4 separate regions of the Homo sapiens genome follow, and all the other regions are linked to region 1. Evidence: promoter capture Hi-C in 16 types of primary human blood cells and fetal thymus (Javierre and others, 2016). All regions are on one chromosome and are shown on one strand. The core of a region is centred on a gene start or on the middle of the fragment in contact, and the rest is flanking DNA. Distances in the headings are between cores, read along the strand shown.

Region 1 (5,820 bases), core at 31-2,530:
ACACTCGGCTAATTTTTGTATTTTTAGTATAGATGGGGCTTCTCCAAGTTAGCCAGGCTGGTCTTGAACTCCTGACCTCAGGTGATCTGCCCGCCTCGGCCTACCAAAGTGCTGGGATTACAGCCGTGAGCCACCCAGCCTCTTTGGTTTCCTTTGACCCTGCCTACACTTCTATAAATAGTTTCTTCCTTAAACTCTCTTCAACTCCTCTTTGAAGAGCCATATGTTTCTTTCTTCTTCTTATTCTTCTTTTTTTTTTTCTTTTTGTTGTTGTTGTTGAGACAGGGTCTCGCTTTGTCACCCAGGCTGGAGTGCAGTGGCACAATCATAGCTCACTGCAACCTCGACCTCCCAGGCTCAAGCAATCCTCCCACCTCATCTCCCGAGTAGCTGGGATACAGACGTGCACCACCACGCCCTGCAGTTCATAATTTTTGTATTTTTTAATTTTTTGTAGAGATGGGGTCTTGCTATGTTGACCAGGCTGGTCTTGAACTCCTAGCCTCAAGCAATCCTCCCACCTCAGTCTCCCAGAGTGTTAGGATCACAGGAGTGAGCCACCGTGCTCGGCCAAGTCATATGTCCCTTAAACTGGCTCTTACTGATACACACCAAGAGGTTGGGTTACTTTCCCAAAGTCACACAGAGTAAGTGACAGGGCAGCTAAGAGCATTGTCACTGGAACACAGAGCAGGGTGGAGGCTTTTTCAGCCTCGCCAGCCTGCCCAGCCCCCTCCCAGGGTCCCTATGCCCTGCCCAACCTGCTGGAATCTGTGATCCTTTTGTTGGGATGGGATTGAATTCCCTAGGGCTCCTGTCCCAGACCTGGCCAGCAGCTCCAGTAACCAGAGCTGTGTGAGAAGAAAAGGCCAAGCCACTGGGGCAGCCGCACCCCAAACAGAGGTGAGGTCTCCGATGAGTCATGCCCGTGAGGGGCCACTTCCCCTGTCCTAAGGGCCACTGCTCACCAAGGACACAGAACACTGTCCTCCTCTTTGACCTTTGCCTGCAGTGTTTTTCATCCCTCCCTCTCCCACCCAACAGGTGTCCAGGAGCTAGGACACCTGTCCTCCACCCCCACCCTGGGCCTCCAGAGACATGAGATGTGCGCAGGGCTCTGGGTGGGGCCTTCAGGCTCCCCAGCTTCCCCCTTCCAGCCCCAGATCCTCTCAGATTCCCAGAGATGGGCTCCAGCCAGGGAGGGTGGGGCTGCCCCTGGGACCATCAGGAGTCACGGGCTGCCTGGGCAGTGACAGAGCCCTGCAGGGAGCAGACCTTCACTTGGCTCTGCCTCCGCTGACTCTAGCGCCATGGCCCGGCACCTGCTCCTCCCCCTTGTGATGCTTGGTAACCTCAGGGGACAAGAGTGGCTGCAAAGGGCCTGGGTCCTGGCATCTGGGGGGCTGGAGAGCAGGATTCCTGGTTTCTGTGTGGGGAGCAGGAAGTCAGAGAGAAGGAAGTGAGGCAGCAGAAGGCGAGGATGTATCAGAGGAGGGAGAGGGAGGCCTGGGTGCCCTGGGGAGACGGAGGCTAGGAGGCTGGGGGAGGGAGTCAGGGAGGGCACATACTGAGTGCGAGTCGCCAGCCTCTTCCTGCCTACCTCTGTCTTTCCAGTCATCAGTCCCATCCCAGGAGCCTTCCAGGACTCAGGTAAGGTAGCCGGACTGGGGGAAAGTCACGTGCAGAGGCAGAAAAGACCAGAGGACTGGCATGGGTGCTGGCAGGGGTTGCTGAACGGACAGGGAAGTGGGAAGATAGGGTCGGGGGTTGGAGAGCAGGAAGTGGGGCTGGGCGGTGCAGGCCTGGAAGTCACAAGTGTCCTCCTCTCTTTCCCCTCTGGCTCCCAGCTCTCAGTCCTACCCAGGAAGAACCTGAAGATCTGGGTAAGGAAGAGGCCTTGGCACCCTCAGACCTTAAAGGAGGCTAAGGCTGGTCAGGCCATGAGGGAGGTGGAAAAGACCAGAAATGTAGACAAGCCTGGGTCCTCTATGTTCTTTGTTCAGAGGGGCAAACTGAAGTGGGTGGAGGACGGGCCTTCGTCCTGAGTTACCTGGGCTTCTGGAGTGGGGAACCCGAGGGGAGCTTTGGCTTCCACGGCTCCCCGTTGCAGACTGCGGGCGCCCTGAGCCCTCGGCCCGCATCGTGGGGGGCTCAAACGCGCAGCCGGGCACCTGGCCTTGGCAAGTGAGCCTGCACCATGGAGGTGGCCACATCTGCGGGGGCTCCCTCATCGCCCCCTCCTGGGTCCTCTCCGCTGCTCACTGTTTCATGACGTGAGTATTCGCCCTGGTCCTGGCCCCTCTCCGCCAAAAGCTGGCCCCCGCCCCCGCAGTTGGTCCCCTCCTCCCGCCCCACTTCCGTCCTCAAGGATAATTTGGAGCCAAGCTGTCCCCAAAGCGAGGTGCTATTCGAGGCATCATGGTTCCGAGTGGGGCAAGGCTGCCGGACTGGTCCCACCACTCCACTCAATATCCGGGTCTGAATCCCATCTTTCCAATGACCCCCCCACCACCAGCTCCAAATCGGATTTGCTCTTCCCCTTTGAGGAGTATCAGCACCAAATCTGGATCGGATAGCACCTGCCCCTCTGGCTCTGAGCCCCTGCCCCCAACGAGGGTCTGCCCCCTCCATAGGGTCAACCTAACCTCCTACTGCCCCGGTCGAGCGCAGGAATGGGACGCTGGAGCCCGCGGCCGAGTGGTCGGTACTGCTGGGCGTGCACTCCCAGGACGGGCCCCTGGACGGCGCGCACACCCGCGCAGTGGCCGCCATCGTGGTGCCGGCCAACTACAGCCAAGTGGAGCTGGGCGCCGACCTGGCCCTGCTGCGCCTGGCCTCACCCGCCAGCCTGGGCCCCGCCGTGTGGCCTGTCTGCCTGCCCCGCGCCTCACACCGCTTCGTGCACGGCACCGCCTGCTGGGCCACCGGCTGGGGAGACGTCCAGGAGGCAGGTGAGTGGGACGGGACAAGAGGGGAGGGCCTCGGGGAGGTGGGGCTTCGAGAGGTGAGGTTCCTAGGGCGGGGCCTCAGGAGGTGGGGCCACGGAGCGGAGCCTGCGGGGAGCGTTGGAGGGTAGGTTTCTGCGGGTCGGTGGATGAATCCCACACCGATCTCCATGTAGCCTTCTCCCTGCAAGGATTCTCAAACTAAGACCACGGAATCACCCACACGCACCCCATTCCCTCCTTACCTGTCCTTCCAGTTTTTTCTTTCCTGGGTTTAGGCTCCGACTAGGGTTCCCATCCCAGCTCTAACATGTCAGACAAAGCACTTCACCCAGTACATTTCCTCATCTGTAACACGAGGAAAATAGCCATACCCACTTCAAGGGGTGGTTGAGTGGATTAAATGAGAAAATCCATGTAAAGTTCATAGTACAGTGCCTGGCATAGCAATAACCAATGCACTTTACATATTTCACCTCAGGTAATCTATAGTAAAGCACTACAGCATAAGGCTGGCCTATAATAGATATTCAGCAAATGCCAGTCTGTGCCTCCCTCCCATCCGCCTTCCTCTCATTCCATCCACCCCCACTCATCTCTCTACTCCCCACCTCCTCTCTTCTTCCTACCCACCATCATTCATTCAATCATTCTTTCACTCAAGATATTTCTTGAGCACCTTCTACATGCCAGGCACCGTGTTAGGCATTAGAGAGACACCAGTGAACATAAAAAGCCAAAATCCTGCCTTTTCAGAGTTTACATCCTAGGAGATAGACAAGCAACAAATTCAATAAATAAGCACGCATTATGTTAGAAGGTGGGGGGGAATAGACCAAATCTCCATCCCCATCATCCCCATCACCCAAGCTTTCCATGCTCCCAGGGCCCCCACAAATATCCACATCAGCCGTGGTCAGACCTGTGCCCATCCTCGGGGCTTTGGGTAGGTGCTACAGGGGAAGATGCTACAGCCTCTGCTTGTGGAGGTCCCATCAGGGCAGGAGGTGATGAGGAAGCGTCACTGTGAGCCCCAGGAAGTCTGTGTGAATGGGGCCAGGCCATCCTAACAATGGGCACCCAGAGAGGGAGATTTCTGCAGAGATTTTTGAAGAGAGGGTACATTGCAGGAAGATGGGGGGAGATGAAGGCCACCCTGTGGACCCAGATAAGTCATGTTAGATGAAGAAGGGCCAGGATGCCAGGCTGGAGTGAGAGGGGTACAGGCACCTGGGCTGCAAAGGCTGCTGTGGCCCGGCCATGAAGACCTTAAGATCAGACTGAGGGCCAGAGCACCCCACCAGCTCCAGGGACGCCCAGGACAATCCCCAACTTCCCTGGTGAGCCCCAAGTACAGCTTCAGCCATCACCTGACCTCAAATTCTTTTCTTTTTTTCATCAATTCTTTTTTTCTTTTTGAGACAGAGTTTCACTCTTGTTGCCCAGGCTGGAGTGCAACGGCGCGATCTAGGCTCACTGCAACCTCCGCCTCCCAGCTTCAAGCAGATTCTACTGCCTCAATCTCCCAAGTAGCTGGGATTATAGGCACCCACCACCACGCCCAGCTAATTTTTTGTATTTTTAGTAGAGACAGGGTTTCACTATGTTGGGCAGGCTAGTTTTGAACTCCTAACCTCAGGTGATCCACCTGCCTCGGCCTCCCAAAGTGCTGGAATTACAGGTGTGAGTCACCGCGCCTTTGACCTCAGATTCTGAGTGAGTTGGGGAAGGAGTTCTGTCTGTACTTCCCCCCACCCCCTACTCCTTTCTGGATCCTGAAGCTGTTTCCGTCAAAAGCAGGATGGGCTGCAGCACCAAGTTTAGACAGTGTGATCCGTTTATTTTTCTTGGTGAGATCAGAACTGAACTTGAGTAGCATTCCTCTTCATTGCTGAAGTGAAGAGTGGATCAGAAGGCTGGGTCAGTTATCCAGGCCCAAAGCTATGCAGCCTCAACTAGTGTAGTTGTTTAGAATGCCAAGACGTCACAAATGAGAGGTTTTCATGAACTGGGAACTGACTGGAGGAGGGGAGTTGAGAGAGGAGACAGGGATGACACCCAGATTCCATGCTTGGCAACTCAGGACAGGACCATGTCAAGTCCGTATGGCATCTCTGTGAAAAGATGTCTCTGGACCAACACAACTCCACGTGAGAGCTCAGAACTTAATGGTTTTAGTCCCTACATTGCATCCTTTGTTGCAGTGCACAACCTGCACAACCATGCATGGCAGCTCTCACTAGGAGCTTGATGAGACCATTCCTGAGATGAAAAAGTAGAAAGAACAGATAGAAGCAGGAGGAGATGTGGTGAATGTGGTGGGCTGAGAGGCCATGGGGCATCTAGCTGATGTCCAAGAAGCAGCCGCAGGAGGCAAACCTGAACCCTGGGAACTGGGGATGCCATACCTGCCTCACAGCACCTGCTCTCTGGTTCTGCCTCCAGATCCTCTGCCTCTCCCCTGGGTGCTACAGGAAGTGGAGCTAAGGCTGCTGGGCGAGGCCACCTGTCAATGTCTCTACAGCCAGCCCGGTCCCTTCAACCTCACTCTCCAGATATTGCCAGGGATGCTGTGTGCTGGCTACCCAGAGGGCCGCAGGGACACCTGCCAGGTGAGGGAAGGCCCCGGCACCTGCCTGGCAGGGCCAGAGTCCTAACCAGTGACAAATAGATAAAGGACATCTCTCCAAGCCTCATCTGCAAAAGGAGGGCAAGATTGCCAAGGGATGGGGTTGACGTGAAGTTTTTTGTTTGTGTATTTTGAGACAGAGCCTCACTTTGTCGTCCAGGCTGGACTGCAGTGGCGCAATCTCGGCTTACTGCAACCTCCCCCTGCTCCACCCCCACCGCTCAAGCGACTCTTGTGCTTCAGCCC
Region 2 (5,653 bases), core at 268-2,767, 280 kb after region 1:
TCCTCACTTGTAGTCCCAGCTACACTGCAGGCGAAGGCAGGAGGATGCCTTGAGCCCAGGAGTTTCAAGGCTACAGTAGCTTTGATCGTGACACTGCACTCCAGCCTGGGCAACAGAGCGAGACCCCGTCTCTTTAAAAAAAAAAAAAAAAAGAAAGAGCCAGGCGTGGTGGCTCACACCTGTAATCCCAGCACTTTGGGAGGCAGAGGCAGGAGATCCACTAGAGCTTAGGAGTTCGAGGCCAGCAACATAGTGAGAACTCATCTCTACAAAAAGTAAAAAAAAATGAGCTGGGCACAGTGGCAGGCGCCTGTAGTCCCAGCTACTCAGGAGGCTGAGGTGGGAGGATTGCTGGAACCTGGGAGGTCGAGGCTGCAGTGAGCCATGATCGTGCCACTGAACTCCAGCCTGGGTGACAGAGTGAGACCCTGTCGCAAAAAACAAAATAAAATAATGAAGGCTATAGGCTCAGAGAGGGAAAGCGATAGGCCCCGAGTGACACAGCAAAGCTGGAACTACGACTCTGGCCCCAGTCTTCAAGCTCGGCACTCTTTCTACTTTGTCTTTCCCATAACTGTCGACTCACAAAGCCATGGCCATGAAAAAATTAGATTCATGGCTGGGTGCGGTGGCTCACACCTGTAATCCCAACATTTTGGGAGGCTGAGGCAGGTGGATCATTTGAGGTCAGGAGTTCAAAAAAAAAGAAAAAATTACAGATTCATTTTAAAAGTGTAATGTGGAAGCTGAGAAGGGAGGTAAAGCAGAGGCATAACAGGCCAATTTTTTTTAAATCTTTTTTTTTTGCTGTTGTATTATTTTTCTTTTCCGTTCTGTTCTTTTTCTTTGTTGTTGCTGTTGTTTTTTGTTTTGTTTCAGATGGAGTTTCGCTCTTGTTGCCCAGGCTGGAGTGCAATGGCGCAATCTCCGCTCACCACAACCTCCACCTCCCAGGATCAAGAGATTCTCCTGCCTCAGCCTCCCAAGTAGCTGGGATCACAGGCGCGTGCCACCACACCTGGCTAATTTTGTATTTTTAGTAGAGACCAGGTTTCTCCATGTTGGTCAGGCTGGTCTCGAACTCCCGACCTCAGGTGATCTGCCCACCTCGGCCTCCCAAAGTGCTGGGATTACAGGCGTGAGCCACCGCGCCTGGCCTATTGTATTGTTTTCTATAGCTGTAACAAATTACAGCAAATTTAGTAGCTTAAAACAACACAGATTTGGCGGGGTGCGGTGACTCACGCCTGTAATCCCAGCACTTTGGGAGGCCGAGGTGGGCGGATCAGGAGGTCAGGAGATGGAGACCATCCTGGCTAACATGGTGAAACCCTGTCTCTACTAAAAATACAAAAAAAAAAAAAAAATTAGCCGGGTCGGGTGGTACACGCCTGTAGTCCCAGCTACTCGGGAGGCTGAGGCAGGAGAATCGCTTGAACCCAGGAGGCAGAGGTTGCAGTGAGCTGAGATCGCACCACTGCATTCCAGCCTGGGTGACAGAGCAAGACTCTGTCTCAAAAAAAAAAAAAAAACCCACAGATTTATCATATTACAATTCCGTAGGTCTGAAGTCTGACATGAGTCTCACTGGGCTAAAATCGAGGTGTTTCTGTTGGACAAGAGATTGTTGTAAAACAACAACAAAAAATAATAAATAAATGAAATCAAATCAGGGTGTCTTCAGGGCTGTGTTCCCTCCTGGAGGCTCTAGGGGACAGTCTGTTTCACTCTCTCTTCCAGCTTCCAGAGGCCCCTCCCTCCATCTTCAGAGTCAGTCACACTGCATTTCTGACCATTCTTCCACAATCACATCTCCCTCTGATCAAAATCAGAAATAAGTCTCTGATTTTATTTTATTTTTTTCTTTTTGAGATGGAGTCTTGCTCTGTTGCCCAGGCCGGAGTGCAGTGGCGCGATCTTGGCTCACTGTAACCTCCGCCTCCCGGGTTCAAGCGATTCTCCTGTCTCAGCCTCCTGAGTAGCTGGGATTACAGGCATGCGCCACCACGCCTGGCTAATTTGTGTATATTTAATAGAGATGGGGTTTCACCATGTTGGCCAGGCTGGTCTCGAACTCCTGACCTCAGGTGATCTGCCTGCCTCGGCCTTCCAAAGTGCTGGGATGGCCGAGTCTCTGATTTTAAAGACCAACATGATTACATTGTGCCCCCCTGGATAATCCAAGACCACCCGCATCTCAAGGTCCTTAATCACACCTGCAAAATCCCTTCACCATGTAAACTAAGACATTCACATGTTCCAGGGGTTAGGGTGTGGGAATTTTAGGACATCAGAATAATGGCCATTATTCTGCCTACCACTTATGAAACATCCATATACATAAATATTCATAGAAAAATAGTCTAAGATAGTATTACAAAACAAAATATCCTTATAACCACCACCCAAACCAAGAAATAAACATGGTCAGAATCTCAATGATACCCACCTTCCCCCAATCATGTTTTTTTGGGCCTGGAATTTTTTTGTCCATCTATTAACTTTCAACATTTTTGTCACTTTGTTTTATGTGCATTTCCTATACATTGCATATGGCTAGATTTTAAAAGTCATTTGGTTTGACAAGCTCTGACTTTTGTTTGTTTTTGAGACAGGGTATCTCCCTGTCATCCAGGATGGAGTGCAGTAGCACAATTGTAGCTCACTGTAGCCTCAAACTCCTGGGCTCAAGTGATCCTCCAGCCTCAGCCTTCTGGATAGTTGGGACTACAGGTGTGCACCACCATGCTCAGCTGATTTTTAAACTTTTTGTAGAGAAGATATCTCATTATGTTGCCCAGACTGGTCGTGAACTCTTGGCCTTATATAATCCTCCCACCTCAGCTTCCCAAAGTGCTGGCATTACAGGCATGAGACGGCACGCCCAGCAAACCTCTGACTTATAATAGGTTAATTCAGCCTGTTCATATTTATTTCAATAAGCAATATACTTTCTTTCCGCCTTATTTTACATTTACTATTTACATTTCATTAATGTTTTCCTCTGTGCCTTTTTTTTTCTTTAACTTTGGTGGGTTTCATCAAGTTCCTGTTAATTCCCACCCCCCCACCTTTTTTTTTTTTTTCCAGACAGTCTCGCTATTTTGGCCAGGCTGGAGTGCAGTGGCCCGATCTTGGCTCACTGCAACCTCTGCCACCCAGGTTCAGGCGATTGTCATGCCTCAGCCCCCTGAGTAGCTGGGACTACAGGTGCGTGCCACCACGCCTGGCTAATTTTTGTATTTTTAGTAGAGACAGCGTTTCACCATGTTCGCCAGGCTGGTCTCAAACTCCTGACCTCAAGTGATCCACCCACCTCAGTCTACCAAAGTGCTGCAATTACAGGCGTGAACCACCGCACCCAGCCTTCCCTTTGCTAACCTGCTAGTGTTTATCTTCTTTCCTAACAATCATATCCTTAAATTGCTCTATGGATACATGGTAAATAATCCTCCTCCATCAAAATATTATGCTTGCCAACTCCTCCATCACTCCCTGAAAGACGCTGCCTTTAGCATGCTTCTAACTCTCCCACTCTCCCCAGTCCTTGAGTTTTATTACTGAGATAGTTTACAATTTTTTGTTCTCGTCTATTATGAGGATTTGTTGTTGTTATAAAACCCATATGGCCGGGCGAGGTGGCTCACGCCTGTAATACCACCACTTTGGGAGGCTGAGGCAGATGGATCTCCTGACGTCAGGAGTTCGAGACAAGCTTAGCCAACATAGTGAAACGCTGTGTCTACTAAAAATACAAAAAAAAAAAAAAAATTAGGGCACTGTGGCGGGCGCCTGTAATCCCAGCTACTAGGGAGGCTGAGGCAGGAGAATCGCTTGAACCTGGGAGGTGGAGGTTGCAGTGAGCCAAGATCACGCCACTGCACTCCAGCCTGGGTGACAGAACAAGACTCCATCTCAAAAAAAAAAAAAAAAAGAAAAAAAAAGCCATATGTATGTGCACGGTAAAATGTCAGGAAATACAGATGAGGAAAAATGAGAGTAACACTATTCCTGCCACCTAGAGTCCTACTGCCAGTACCTTGAATTGGTGTTTTATTTTATTTTTATTCATTTATTTTTTAAAGATACAAGATCTCATTCTGTCACCTGGGCTGGACTGCAGTGGCATAATCATAGTTCACTGCAACCTCAAACTCCAGAGCTCAAGGGATCCTTCTGCCTCAGCCACCCAAGTAGCTGGGAATACAAAGGCACACCACTAGGCCAGGCTAATTTTCAAAAAAATTTTTTTTTTGGTAGAGACTGTCACACGCTTCCGGGTGAAGATACCACCAAACAGCAAACAGGCTTTGTGTGAGCAACAAGGCTGTTTATTTCACCTGGGTGCAGGTGGGCTGAGTCCGAAAGAGGAGTCAGCAAAGGGTGGTAGGATTATCATTAGTTCTTATGGGTTTGGAATAGGCATACAAAGTACATTCTCAAGGGTGGGGAGAGTATTACAAAGTACTTTTTTTTTTTTTTTTTTTTTGAGTTGGAGGTCTTGCTCCGTTGCCCAGGCTGGATAGAGTGCAGTGACGTGATCTCGGCTCACTGCAAGCTCCGCCTCCCAGGTTCAAGTGATTCTCCTGCCTCAGCCTCCCAAGTAGCTGGGACTACAGTTGCCTGCCACCACGCCTGGCTAACTTTTTGTATTTTTAGTAGAGATGGGGTTTCACCGTGTTAGCCAGGATGATCTCGATCTCCTGACCTTGTGATCCGCCAACCTCGGCCTCCCAAAGTGCTGGGATTACAGACAAAGTACCTTCTTAAGGGCAGGGGAGAATATTACAAAGTACCTTCTTAAGGGTGGGGGGGTGGGGGTGGGGGGGAGAATATATCGCATCAGTTAGGGTGGGGCAGGAACAAATCACAGTGGTGGAATGTCATCAGTTAAGGCTATTTTCACTTGTGGATCTTCAGTTGCTTCAGGCCATCTGGATGTATACGTGCAGGTCACAGGGGATATGATGGCTTAGCCTGGGCTCAGAGGTCTGACATTCCTGTCTTATATTAATAAGAAAAACAAAACAAAATAGTGGTGAAGTGTTGGGGCGGTGAAAATTTTTGGGGGTGGTATGGAGAGATAATGGGTGATGTTTCTCAGGGCTGCTTCGAGCAGGATTAGGGGCAGCGTGGGAACCTACAGTGGGAGAGATTAAACTGAAGAAAGATTTTGGGGTAAGGGGTGATATTGTGGGGTTGTTAGAAGGAGCATTTGTCATATAGAATTATTGGTGATGGCCTGGATGCAGTTTTGTATTAATTGAGAAACTAAACAGAAGACACAAGATCTGAATAAAAGAAGGAGAAAAATAGGTATTAAAGGACTAAGAATTGGGAGTACTCAGGACATCCAATTAGAGAGTGTCCAAGGGGGTTCAGCATAATTATTTGCTTGGTTGGCGAGTTTTTGGGCTCTATCCTTGAGTTTTTTTATGTTGTCATATACCAGGCCAGATTGATTTAGGAAAAAACAACACTCTTCATTTAAAAATATACAGAGTCCTCCTTTTTCAGCAGTGAGTAAATCAGGGCCTCGGTGATTTTGGAGGAAAGAGAAATGCAAAACCAGCAATTATTTGTTAAAGAAGGATTAGAAACGGCTAGGAGAGAGTCAGTGAGATTGATAGTGTGATGGAGATAGCTGGGGAGA
Region 3 (5,278 bases), core at 898-3,397, 300 kb before region 1:
GAGTGTCAAGTGTTGTAGACCTCTGCAAAATTCATAACTGCTTAAGAATATTAGGTATGGGTAGAGTAGGCTTGGAAGGAGGATTGGTTTGCAGAATCCCTTTCAGAGACCTGTAATCTAATTTCTCACATTAGGGCTAATACTCCTGGGACCCCTCTCCTCTCCAATTGCATAAAACAGGTTCTGACCAGAACAGCGAGGCAGGCCAGACCTCAGAAGCAGAGGGACGGGCTTAATCTAACAGGAGTTTATCCCATGTCCTGCATCCACTGTACCCTGTGCTGGGTTTAGAAGTAGCTTCACTGTCCAAGCTTGTGACCCAGTGCCCAAGCCCGAGATGGGAAACACATTTGTTTTGGCTGTGTGTGTGTGTGTGTGTGTGTGTGTGTGTGTGTGTGTGTGTTTTCAAACAAGCCAAGATTTTTACTTTTTGAGTTCCATTTTGTTGCCCAGGCTGGTCTCTGAAACTTCCAGGCTCAAGCAATCCCCCTGCCTCAGCCTCCCAAAATGCTGGAATTACAGGTGTGAGCTACCATGCCCATTTATTTATTTATTTATTTATTTATTTATTTTTGAGACAGAATCTCACTCTGTCATCCAGGCTGGAGTGCAGTGGTGCAATTGTGGCTCACTGTAGCCTCAACCTCCTGGGCTCAAGTGATCCTCCCACCTTAACCTCCCAAGGAGCTGGGACTACAGGCATACACCACCACACCTGGCTAATTTTTTGATTTTTAAAAAATGTTTTGTAGAGACGGGGTCTCACTGTGTTGCCCAGGCTGGTCTTGAACTCCTGAGTTCAAGTGTTCCTCTGGTCTCAGCCTCCCAAAATGCTGGGATTACAGATGTGAGCCACCTAACCTGGTCTTTTTATTTTTTTAAAGAGCCAACATTTAAATAAGGAGATTTCACATCACAGTCGATTTCTGGGGCTTGGTTTGTTGTTGTTTTTTTTGTTTTTTTTTTTTTTTAATTGAGACAGGATCTTGCCAGGTTGCAGACTGGTCTTGAACTCCTAGGCTCAAATGATCCCCTCCTGGCCGGGCACGGTGGCTCACGCCTGTAATCCCAGCACTTTGGGAGGCCTAGGTGGGCGGATCACGAGGTCAGGAGATCGAGACCTTCCTGGCTAACAAGGTGAAATCCTGTCTCTACTAAAAATACAAAAAATTAGCTGGAAATGGTGGCAGGCGCCTATAGTTCCAGCTACTCAAGAGGCTGAGGCAAGAGAATGGCATGAACCCAGGAGGCAGAGCTTGCAGTGGGCGGAGATCCTGTCACTGCAATCCAGCCTGGGTGACAGAGCAAGACTCCGTTTCAAAAAAAAAAAGAAAAGATCCCCTGCCCCGGCCCTTCCCTCCCCCACCCACCTCGGCTTCCGAAAGTGGTAGGATTACAGGCGTCAGTCACCACACCCGGCCTGCTTTATTATTTATATCAGAAGATGCTGCAACATTGGATTTTTATGGCAGCAGTTCGTTGAGTAGTGGCTGTCCTGGACATAGGAACAGGGACACTCCCTCTTGCATCCCTGACTCAGCACGTTTCATATGTGTTACTTGCCTGTCCCCTGCAGAAAAGTACTTGAGGTTACAGTCTCCATCCCACCCCACTGTGGGTGAGAAGGACCTTTCCATGCAGTGAAGGCACTTTTCCCCTTTCCTTCACCCCTTCCTGTTCCCTTCTCTGCCGTTTTCCTTCTTCTCCCCCAGAACTCCTCTGTGAAATACCTGGCCTCCTTCCCTGAGCCTCCCTGTCTCCCTGCCACCCCATCTCCACTCCGTGCTATGACATCACCCCGTAATTTGAAGCTCCTTTCCCTATCTGAAGGGAGGCAGAGACAGAGTGCACAGGCTCAACTAGGCAAGGCAGACCCTTGCATGCCTGGGTCAGAGGTCAGGGTCTCTGGCACACATTCCTCCCAGAGCAACTGTAGGAAGCAAGCCAGTACAGAGGTACTCTAAGCGCTAGACAGGACGGGGTGGGAGTCGGTAACATCGTCTCCTCTGGGCTGGCCCTGCTTCTGCTTAGCTCTGGGCATAAGACTGACTCCAGTACAGTCACAGTTATGTCTCTGAGCTCACCCAGTCCTGGGTTCCAGGTTCCCAGCTCTGAGCCTGGCGAGACACACACAGGCTGGTGCTGTGGGATGTCTTGGTACGGTGGCTCACGCCTGTATTCCCAGCGCTTTGGGAGGCCGAGGTGGGCAGATCACCTGAGGTCAGGAGTTCGAGACCAGGCTGCCCAACGTGGTGAAACCCTGTCTCTACCAAAAATATAAAAATTAGCCAGGCATGGTGGCACGTGCCTGTAATCCCAGCTACTTGGGAGGTTGAGGCAGGAAAATTGCTTGAACCCAGGAGGTGGAGGTTTCAGTGAGCCAAGATCGTGCCACTGCACCCCAGTTTGGATGAAAGAGTGAGACTCCGTTTCAAAAAAAAAACAAAAAAAACAAAACCAAAAAATAAAAAAACACATCAGCTTGACATTTTGGAGGCATTCCCAGACTCAGGGTTAGTCAGCAGATTAGCATTTAAAAGAAAGTCTTGTCCCTACAGATTCCCTGACCTCAGCTACCCATGAAGGGTGGGAAGAGGAGTCCTTAGCAAGAAGTCCAGGAAGTTGACAACCTCCTCAGACCTGATAGGACACTCCTCTCTCCACCCTGCCTCCTGACTGATTTAATCTCAGGGGTGTGAGGACCTCTGAGATAGGCCCCAGGAGTCTCACCCGCACCACTTATGTCTCAGGGCTAACCAGAGACTCCCTGAAACAGATCCTAGAGGATTCCCAAGTGATAGGATAAATAGAGAGGTACTGAGACTTCCTGGCGTGGGTGACCTCTCCCAGGCTGGCCAACCTCCCCCATTCAGAAATTTGCTGAGCACCAGGAGTGAATGAAGTAAAGGAAGCCCCTAGGAGTTCAAGAAGCAGAGATTTCCAGGTCCATGCACCAAAGCTCATGTGCTCAATTCTCAGGAAAGGCCTCACTCAGTTAAAAAATTTTGTATCATGAAAGGGTAAATGAATTAATTAGTGAATCTGGTTTCTAAGCCAATGGCTTACTAGAAATATTATAGTAAATCAGAAAAAAAAAAAAAGGCGGTGGCTCACACCTATAATCCCAGCACTTTGAGAGGCTGAGGTGAGAGGATGCTTTGAGCCCAGGAGTTCGAGACTAGCCTGGGCAACATAGCAAACCCCATCTCTAGAAAAAATTAAAAAACCAGCCAGGTGTGGTGATGTTCACTGTAGTCCCAGCTATTCAGGAGGCTGAGGCAGGAGGACCGCTTGAGCCCAGGAATTTGAGACTGCAGTGAGCTAGGATTGTGCCACTGCACCCCAGCCTGGGCAACAGAGTGAGACCCTGTCTCTAAAAAAATAATTTTTTTTAAAGATAATTCTTCAAAGGAGATCCGCTCTTCCTTTCCTACACCCATTCCCTTTCCTCCCTTTCCTGAACAATGCTGTCTTACAGCCTCTAGGGGCAGGCAGAGCCAAAGAGGCCTCTGCCGGGTGTGGGGAGTGAGACGCAGCAGGCCAGAGCATGTATCAGAGCTCCAGCAGGTGGGGGAGGGTGTCCACACGAGAAGGTGGCCTGGCTTGGCATGGCAGAACCTGATAGGATTAGGAAGGCATCAGCCACGGGAAGGAGATGGCGAGAGAGATAAGAAACTGCTTCCACCAGCTATTGGTCAAATAAGTACACATTTGAAAGATAACAGCCAGGTTTCTCAGTGTCAGAGAAAACCGAGACACAGCTCGGGAAAGGGAGAAAATGTGGGTGGGGAGACCCTTGTGGTGTCGAATTGGAACTGGAGGTATAGGAGTAGACTCAGGATTTTCAGAAAGTGTTTAGATAGACATAGAAATTAGTATGGGTGTGTATATGTGTATGTGCACGCAGATGTGTGTAAATGTCCATATATTCCCTAGCTCTGGAAAGCCCTGGAGCAGTGCCATCCCAATAACAAAAAGCTTTTTATGGTTTTTTGAGATAGGGTCTCTCCCTCACCCAGGCTGGGGTGCAGTGGTGCGACCACAGCCCACTGCAGCCTCGACTTCCTGGGCTCAGGTGATCCTCCTGTGTCAGCCTCCCAAGTAGCTGGGACTACAGGCATATGCCACCACACCCAGCTAATTTTTAATTTTTTTTTTTTGTAGGGACGGGTCTTGCTACGTTGCCCAGGATGGTCCTGAACTCCTGGGCTCAAGCAATCCTCCCACCTCAGTCTCCCAAAGTGCTGGGACTACAGGTGTAACAGTTTTAAGGTAATCAGAATCAAGAAATGATTGAGGTGATGCTCTGGAATAATGGGGACTAGAGAGTCGTGACAACTAAATGCAATGTGTGGTGTGGTAGCATTTTTCTGGGCTGTAGTCCCTAGATGGGTAGAGAAGAAAGCCCCGGAGAGGGTGAAGAGGTGGGGATGTGGAAGACGTCAGAGAGAGCACAGGGCAGAGCGCAGAGAACTGCATCCACAGGCCTCGCCATGCCCCCAGCATGGCTGCACCACACCAGCAGATGCCTTCGCTTCCCAGCAGTGGACACAGGTCACTGGATCCTCACAAATGAGCAGCCAGGAGAATGTTTGCAGCCTGGAGATTCGGGGCTTTGTCAGCACCTTGGGAAGGTTTTGTTCTTGGGTTTTGGGTTTTTGGTTTTTGGATTTTTTTGGTAACAATATCGCTATATTTATTCTCCTGCAGTACACTTTTAAATTGCTTCAACATTTTCCCCTTAAAATAAAAAAGAACAACAACAAAAAAATTCCAAACCTTAGAATTGAAATATTTGGCCTTTTCTCTCTCTCTTTTTTTTTTTTTTTTTTTTTTTTGAGATGGAATCTCGCTCTGTCGCCTAGGCTGGAGAGCAGTGGCGCGATCTCAGCTCACTGCAACTTCTACCTCCTGGGATCAAGCGATTCTCCTGCCTTACCCTCCTGAGTAGCTGGGACCACAGGCGCATGCCACCATACCAGGCTAGTTTTTTTTTGTTTTGTTTTGTTTTGTTTTGTTTTGTTGGTATTTTTAGTAGAGACGGGGTTTCACCGTGTTAGCCAGGATGGTCTCGATCTCCTGACCTCGTGATCCGCCTGCCTCGGCCTCCCAAAGTGCTGGGATTACAGGTGTGAGCCAGTGCACCTGGCCTTGGCCCTTTCTCTTTTTATTTCCTCGCAGTTCTCTCCCTTTTTTAAAAAAAATAATAATAAATTGAATTTATAAATAGAGGCAAGGTCTTGTTATGTTGCCCAGGCTGGTCTCGAACTCCTAGGCT
Region 4 (5,945 bases), core at 3,441-5,940, 360 kb before region 1:
CTCAAGGGCTGCCTTTGCTCACTAGAAGCAGGGAGCTCTCTTCTTCTTCCCCTGGACCCTTCCTTTTTGCTTTAAGTTTTCATTGTCTATGTTCATCCCTTCATTCAGTCTTGTAATGAGGGTGTTAAAGAGTAATGGCAGTAACTGTTATAATGACGGTCTCAAGTAGTAACAGTAGTAACTGTCATAATGATGGTCTCAAGTAGTAACAATAGTAACTGTTGTACTGATGGTCTCAAGTAGTAACAGCAACTGTCATAATGACGGTCTCAAGTACTAACAGTAGTAACTGTCATAGTGAAGGTCTCAAGTAGTCAGTAGTAACTGTCGTAGTGAAGGTCTCAAACAGTAACAGTAGTAACTATCATAATGAGGGTTTCAAGTAGTGACGGTGGCAGTCAGCCATAGAGAAAGGGGAACTATCACTCATCTCTTTGTCAAGCCACCTATCTGCACACTCAGGTCACAGGGAAGTGTATGATGGGTCCTTGCCCTCAGGCACTTACAGTCCACTTGGGAAGACAGGACATCTGTACCTAACAAAAGCAAATACAAACTGGCTCCAGACAGCATAGGCTAAGAGTTAAGTAAATGCTACAACGAACAGGGACTGTCATAGTCTCTGAGTAAGGAGATGTCAAGGTGGACAATGGTAAGCAGTAGAGCTGCAGTGGGTTCATAAATAATGTGACCATATATTCCCATTTGCCTGAGACAGCTTCACTGCAGACCTGTTTTCCCGCAGACCTGTTTTCCCAACACAATTATTACCAGTGCTTCCTTTAATGACCCTCTCAAAAGTCCTGGTTTGCACAATAAATTATACAGTGACACTAGTCATGAGGGCCACCTGCCTCACTTGGAGCCAAGGGCCTCACATTTGAACACTTGACATTATCTCTGAATAAGAACCAACACTTAAACAGTATGTACTATGTGCTAAATACTTTAAGAGTTTTGCACATACGACATGACTTTTTTGTTTTTTGTTTTTTTTTTAGACAGAGTCTTGCTCTGTCGCCCAGGCTGGAGTGCAGTGGCGCAATCTCGGCTCACTGCAACCCCCACCTCCCAGGTTCAAGCAATTCTCCTGCCTCAGCCTCCCAAGTAGCTGGGACTATAGGCACATATCACCACACCTGGCTCATTTTTGTATTTTTAGTAGACATGGGGTTTCACCATGTTGGCCAGGATGGTCTTGATCTCTTGACCTCGTGATCCGTCCGCCTCGGCCTCCCAAAGTGCTGGGATTACAGGCGTGAGCCACCGCGCCCGGCCAAGACATGACTCTTAATTCTCGTTCCAACTCTGTGTGGTAGGTACTAGTATTATTTCCATTTTACCATTACCATTTCGTCTTTCAGAAGAAGAAACTGAAAGACAGAGAGATATGTAACTTGCCCAAGATCTCACAGCTTCCTGGACAGCTTCCTGGACAGAACCTACATTCACAGTAAGGCCCTCTGATGCCCCAGAGTCCTATCCACTCACAGAAGCTAACCTTTCAAATATAACACAATGCTTGATCTTTCACTGTGCCAGGAAACTCAAAATTATTTTGAAAGGATAATTTATTGACAGTGTTATAAGCTAAATGGAAAATAAGAATTAAACATTAAATTTCTGCCAGGCACAGTTCATGCCTATAAGCCCAGCACTTTGGGAAGCTGAGGTGGGCAGATCACTTGAGCCCAGGAGTTTGAGACCAGCCTAGGCAGCATGGCAAAACCCTGTCTCTACAAAAATAAAATACAAAAATTAGCTAGCCATGGTGGCACACGCCTGTGGTCTCAGCTACTCGGGAGGCTGAGGCAGATCACTTGAACCCTGGAAGTTGAGGCTGTAGTGAGACTGTAGTGTGATCACACCACTGCACTCTCTGGGTGACAGAGAACCTGTCTTTTAAAAAAAATTAAATTTATTCAACTACTTCTCTAAAGTGCCACTCCAACATATACCAATATATTCTTTAATCTCAAGAGCTTTGGGAGGCCGAGGTGGGAGGATCACTTGAGGCCAGGAGTTGGAGACCAGCCTGGGCAACATAGTGAGATCCCATCTCTACAGAAAATTTTAAAAGTTGGCCAGGCATGGTGGTGCATGCCTGTAGTCCCAGCTACTTGGGAGGCTGAGGCAAGAGGATCACTTGAGCCCAGGAGTTTGAGGCTGCAGTGAGCTATGATTGCACCACTGCACTCCAGCCTGGGTGACAGAGCAAGACCCTGTCTCATCGATCGATTGATTGATTGACTGATAGAATAAAAAATAAATCTTAACCCTAAGGATGAAGAAGAGCTTGGCCTACAATGTCCTGCAGTTTGGCCCCTAACTCCCTAGCAGCCCTTTCCCCATGCCCCTCGTGCTCTAGACTTCTGCTGCACCGGCCTTTGTTGGATGTTAGGTACCATGCTCCCTCCCCACTCAGGACATGCTGCTCCTTCTTTCCAGAAAATTATTTTCCCATCATAATCAAGTTAACTCTTACTCTAGATCTCAGCTAAATACACACTTCCTCAAAAAAAAAGTTTCCCAGCTGGCCTCAACGGCTCATGCCTATAATCCTAGCATTTTGGAAGACCGAGGCGGGAGGCCTGGGCAACACAGAGAGACCCCAACTTAAATTTTTGTTAAAAAATTTCCCTTGGCCGGGCACAGTGGCTCATGCCTGTAATCCCAGCACTTTGGGAGGCGAGGCAAGCAGATGAGTTGAGGCCAGGAGTTCAAGACCAGCCTGGCCAACATGGCAAAACCCCGTCTCTACTAAAAATACAAAAATTAGCTGGGTGTGGTGGTGAATGCTTGTAACCCCAGCTACTCCGGAGGGTGAGGCAGGTGAATCACTTGAACCCAGGAGGTGGAGGTTGCAGTAAGCCAAGACTGTGCCACTGCACTCCAGCCTGGGTGACAGAGGGAGACTCCATCTCAAAAAAAAAAGTTTCCCTTGATTCCACTGATTAGCTCAATTCTCCTTCTAAAAGTCCTCATATTAAATAACATGTACCCCTCTACAGCAATTGAAATAGTTCCAACTTTGCATTTATTTGTATGATTTGATCAATATCCTTCCCTAATATAAGTTCCAAAAGACCAAGACCCTTGTTTGTTTTTGCTCACTATCCCAATGAGCACATAGGTAGCAACAGGTATTTGTAGAAGAAACTGGCAAACCATTGGTAAAAAAGAGATAACAAACACGGAGTTAATGACAACTGCACGGTTCAAGCGATTTTCTTGCCTCCGCCTCCCGGATAGCTGGGATTATGGCCACACCACCCCCACGCCCAGCTAATTTTTGTATTTTTAGTAGAGATGGGGTTTCAACATGTTGGCCAGGCTGGTCTTAAACTCCTGACCTCAAGTGATCCACCTGGCTCGACTTCCCAAAGTGCTGGAATTACAGGCGTGAGCCACCACGCCCAGCCCAAGGATCACTTTTGAGGCCAGGAGTTTGAGAGCAGCCTGGGCAACATAGGGAGGCCCTGCCTCTATTTAAATAAATATGTTTTTAAAGTACTTAGTCTTCAAACCTTGTTTTATTTTTGTCCTCTATTCAAACCAGTACCTGAATTTAGACAACATTACAGAAATGTTGTGATTAGGCCATTTGTATTTTGAAACCCGAAATTTAAAGAAAAAAAAAAAGAAAAGAAAAGAAGTGTTCAAGTTTATCTCAGTCAGAGAGAGACTGTGTTTGTGTGAGATAAGGCGAAGTGGGGTAGAAGGGCCTTCCAGGATTAAGTCCACGAGGAAGGTGACGGTTTGGGAGAATCTGAAGTTTCAAATAAGGAGTTGTCGGTTGGGATCAAACTGTGGGGATCCAAGAATGCCAGGCTAAGAAACCAGGATATTTTATTTTCTGATAAAAAGAGGATGCTTTTTTGGCAAATTTCTGCTTCGGAGTGAAGATGCTGCACTAGATGGGAAGGAGAAGAGGAGAAATGGAAAGAAGAAAAGGTGAGTTCCAAGGACAGAAACACTCCCTCTTTGGACTCCCCCCAATTTCATGGACTCTCTCCCGCAAAAAAACACACAAGAACTTCCTGCCTTGTTTCCTTGTTTTGTGACATCATTGCAATCTCTTGATTTTTTTCATCCCTCGGATTCCTTAGCATCCTTCAAAAGTAATGTTCCTGCAGTCTCGCAGAAGGCCGAAGGATGGAGAATTTCTAGTCCAGGCCAGGGACACTCAGAAGAGAGAAAAAAAAAAGAACAAAAAAAGACCCAAGCAGCTTCACAGGGCCTCATCTGGTCCAATTTCTTCTCATGATGCATTCATTCACTCATAAATATCTTTTGAGCACCTACTATGTGTTGGGTAGATCTAGGGATAAAATCAGGGTTAAAAATACAGTCGCTGGTCTCACAGCAAAAAAGGCACCTGAGGCCCAGAGAGGGCCACTGACTTGCCAAAAGTCACAAGCTAAAACTTCTGTGGCCGAACCGCGTCTCGAACACAACTGGCGGAGGCCCACGGCGCCTGCAGCCCAGCTGCAGAATGCTACAAAGCAACGGGGGCCGGTGCCGGGGCGTCCGAAGCAGCGCCGAGGCCGGAGAGAGCGACAGTCAGTTTCCTAACTGCGCGGCGGACGCCGAGGCCGGCGCCTGTTCTTGAAAGATGTCCCTCTGCAGCCGCGGTAGCCCAGCCGGAAGTGCCGCCTGCCACGTCCACCGTGCGGCAGGGGCGGGGCTGGGATCCAAAAGCTCGGCATGGCTGACGACGCGGGTTTGGAGACCCCGCTGTGTTCCGAGCAGTTCGGCTCCGGGGAGGCACGGGGCTGCCGCGCCGCCGCGGACGGGAGCCTGCAGTGGGAGGTCGGGGGCTGGCGCTGGTGGGGGCTCTCCAGGGCCTTCACGGTCAAACCTGAAGGACGAGATGCGGGCGAAGTGGGGGCTTCCGGGGCCCCCTCACCGCCCCTCTCCGGGCTCCAGGCCGTGTTCCTGCCTCAGGGCTTCCCTGATAGCGTCAGCCCGGACTACTTGCCCTACCAGCTGTGGGATTCCGTGCAGGTCAGCTCGGTCGTCTGGGGCAGAGGACAGTGCAGGCCACTCCTCCCTCCCCAATAATGGACGGGTGACTGAGACTCGGAGCCCGGGGGGCGGGGGGTCTGACATGCCTCATACACCAAGAACAAGAACAGATGAAGGCACTTAGACCGCCACGCTCCTACGCCCGCTTCTCACCCTACTTGTTTTCTTCTCCAGGCGTTTGCTTCCAGCCTCTCCGGCTCCCTAGCCACCCAGGCAGTCTTGCTGGGCATAGGGGTGGGGAACGCAAAAGCCACTGTTTCAGCTGCCACGGCCACCTGGCTCGTGAAAGGTGAGCTGCACCCCTGGAGCCTCACGTATTGCTGCTTTCAGCCCTGCTTTCGCTGGGCTCTTATGTGTATATATGTATGGACTCGTGCCCCATTAGGTAGAATTCAGGCAGGTCTCCCCAGTGATTAGAGTGGTGCTTTGTAACCCAGTCTTACTTCCCACATCTGGAAGACCCTCATCCCACTCACCAGCCTAGCAGCCGCACTCCATTCCCCACACAGACTTCTGAGTCTCAATCATCTGGATCCCAAATCCCGTCCCCTCCCCTTTATCCCTATTCTCTTTGTGGAAGATTGCATAAGAATGCAATTGATGGAATAAAACTGCCAGCTGCCCAGGATAGGGGAAATTGGTGAGCTCCAGAAAAAAAAGATATAGTTGGTCCTGAGAAGGAGAGAGGAGAGCCTGGAAAGAATGGAAGGTATTGTGTATGCTCTGGGATACCAGATGATGCTGTAAATAATAGAGTGACTATCTGCTGAATATGTACAGCTTTTAAAAAATTGTTTAAGGAAAAAAAATACAGTTTGGTACCATGCCACCCAGAGAGGGAAATAGAACAGAAAAGGGAAATTGTTACATGTTCTACACGAGGAGGCCCCATGGCTTTTGCCACTGTCCTTTGTCTT

What was found. The method cuts DNA at HindIII sites, captures the fragments that hold promoters and counts their contacts. A CHiCAGO score of 5 or more calls a contact.
Region 2: a contact is called between a fragment that was not itself captured here and the fragment with the promoter of PRSS36 in region 1, in 1 of 17 cell types (monocytes). The highest score is 7.4, in monocytes.
Region 3: a fragment that was not itself captured here is called in contact with the fragment with the promoter of PRSS36 in region 1 in 15 of 17 cell types (M0 macrophages, M2 macrophages, M1 macrophages and 12 more); the score reaches 15.9 in M0 macrophages.
Region 4: the fragment with the promoter of RUSF1 here is called in contact with the fragment with the promoter of PRSS36 in region 1 in 1 of 17 cell types (total CD4 T cells); the score reaches 5.3 in total CD4 T cells.

The regions. Positions count from the first base shown.
Region 1 is chr16:31,145,526-31,151,345 of GRCh38, reverse strand. It overlaps PRSS36 (serine protease 36), which reads left to right and starts at 1,280. Exons shown (of 15, transcript NM_173502.5): 1 at 1,280-1,347; 2 at 1,615-1,650; 3 at 1,848-1,883; 4 at 2,111-2,273; 5 at 2,671-2,951; 6 at 5,391-5,557. The coding sequence starts at 1,311. RefSeq lists enhancers at 1,036-1,572, 1,573-2,108, 2,109-2,646. The HindIII fragment of the contact is 9,446 bases long and covers 1-3,817 here.
Region 2 is chr16:30,864,009-30,869,661 of GRCh38, reverse strand. It overlaps a transcript of BCL7C not described here. Among named protein-coding and RNA genes, the nearest start is that of MIR4519, 8.5 kb to the left of the region's middle. The HindIII fragment of the contact is 4,401 bases long and covers 1-3,717 here.
Region 3 is chr16:31,450,168-31,455,445 of GRCh38, reverse strand. No RefSeq gene overlaps it. Among named protein-coding and RNA genes, the nearest start is that of ARMC5, 6.7 kb to the left of the region's middle. RefSeq lists enhancers at 1,219-1,990, 1,991-2,763, 3,344-3,638. The HindIII fragment of the contact is 3,667 bases long and covers 314-3,980 here.
Region 4 is chr16:31,507,136-31,513,080 of GRCh38, reverse strand. RUSF1 (RUS family member 1) reads left to right here and starts at 4,690. Exons shown (of 13, transcript NM_022744.4): 1 at 4,690-5,007; 2 at 5,203-5,317. The coding sequence starts at 4,708. It overlaps RUSF1-DT (RUSF1 divergent transcript), which reads right to left and starts at 4,617. Exons shown (of 2, transcript NR_186401.1): 1 at 4,045-4,617; 2 at 3,515-3,908. RefSeq lists enhancers at 4,140-4,709, 4,274-4,988, 4,989-5,704 and silencers at 4,810-4,859, 4,920-4,979. The HindIII fragment of the contact is 29,640 bases long and covers 1-5,945 here.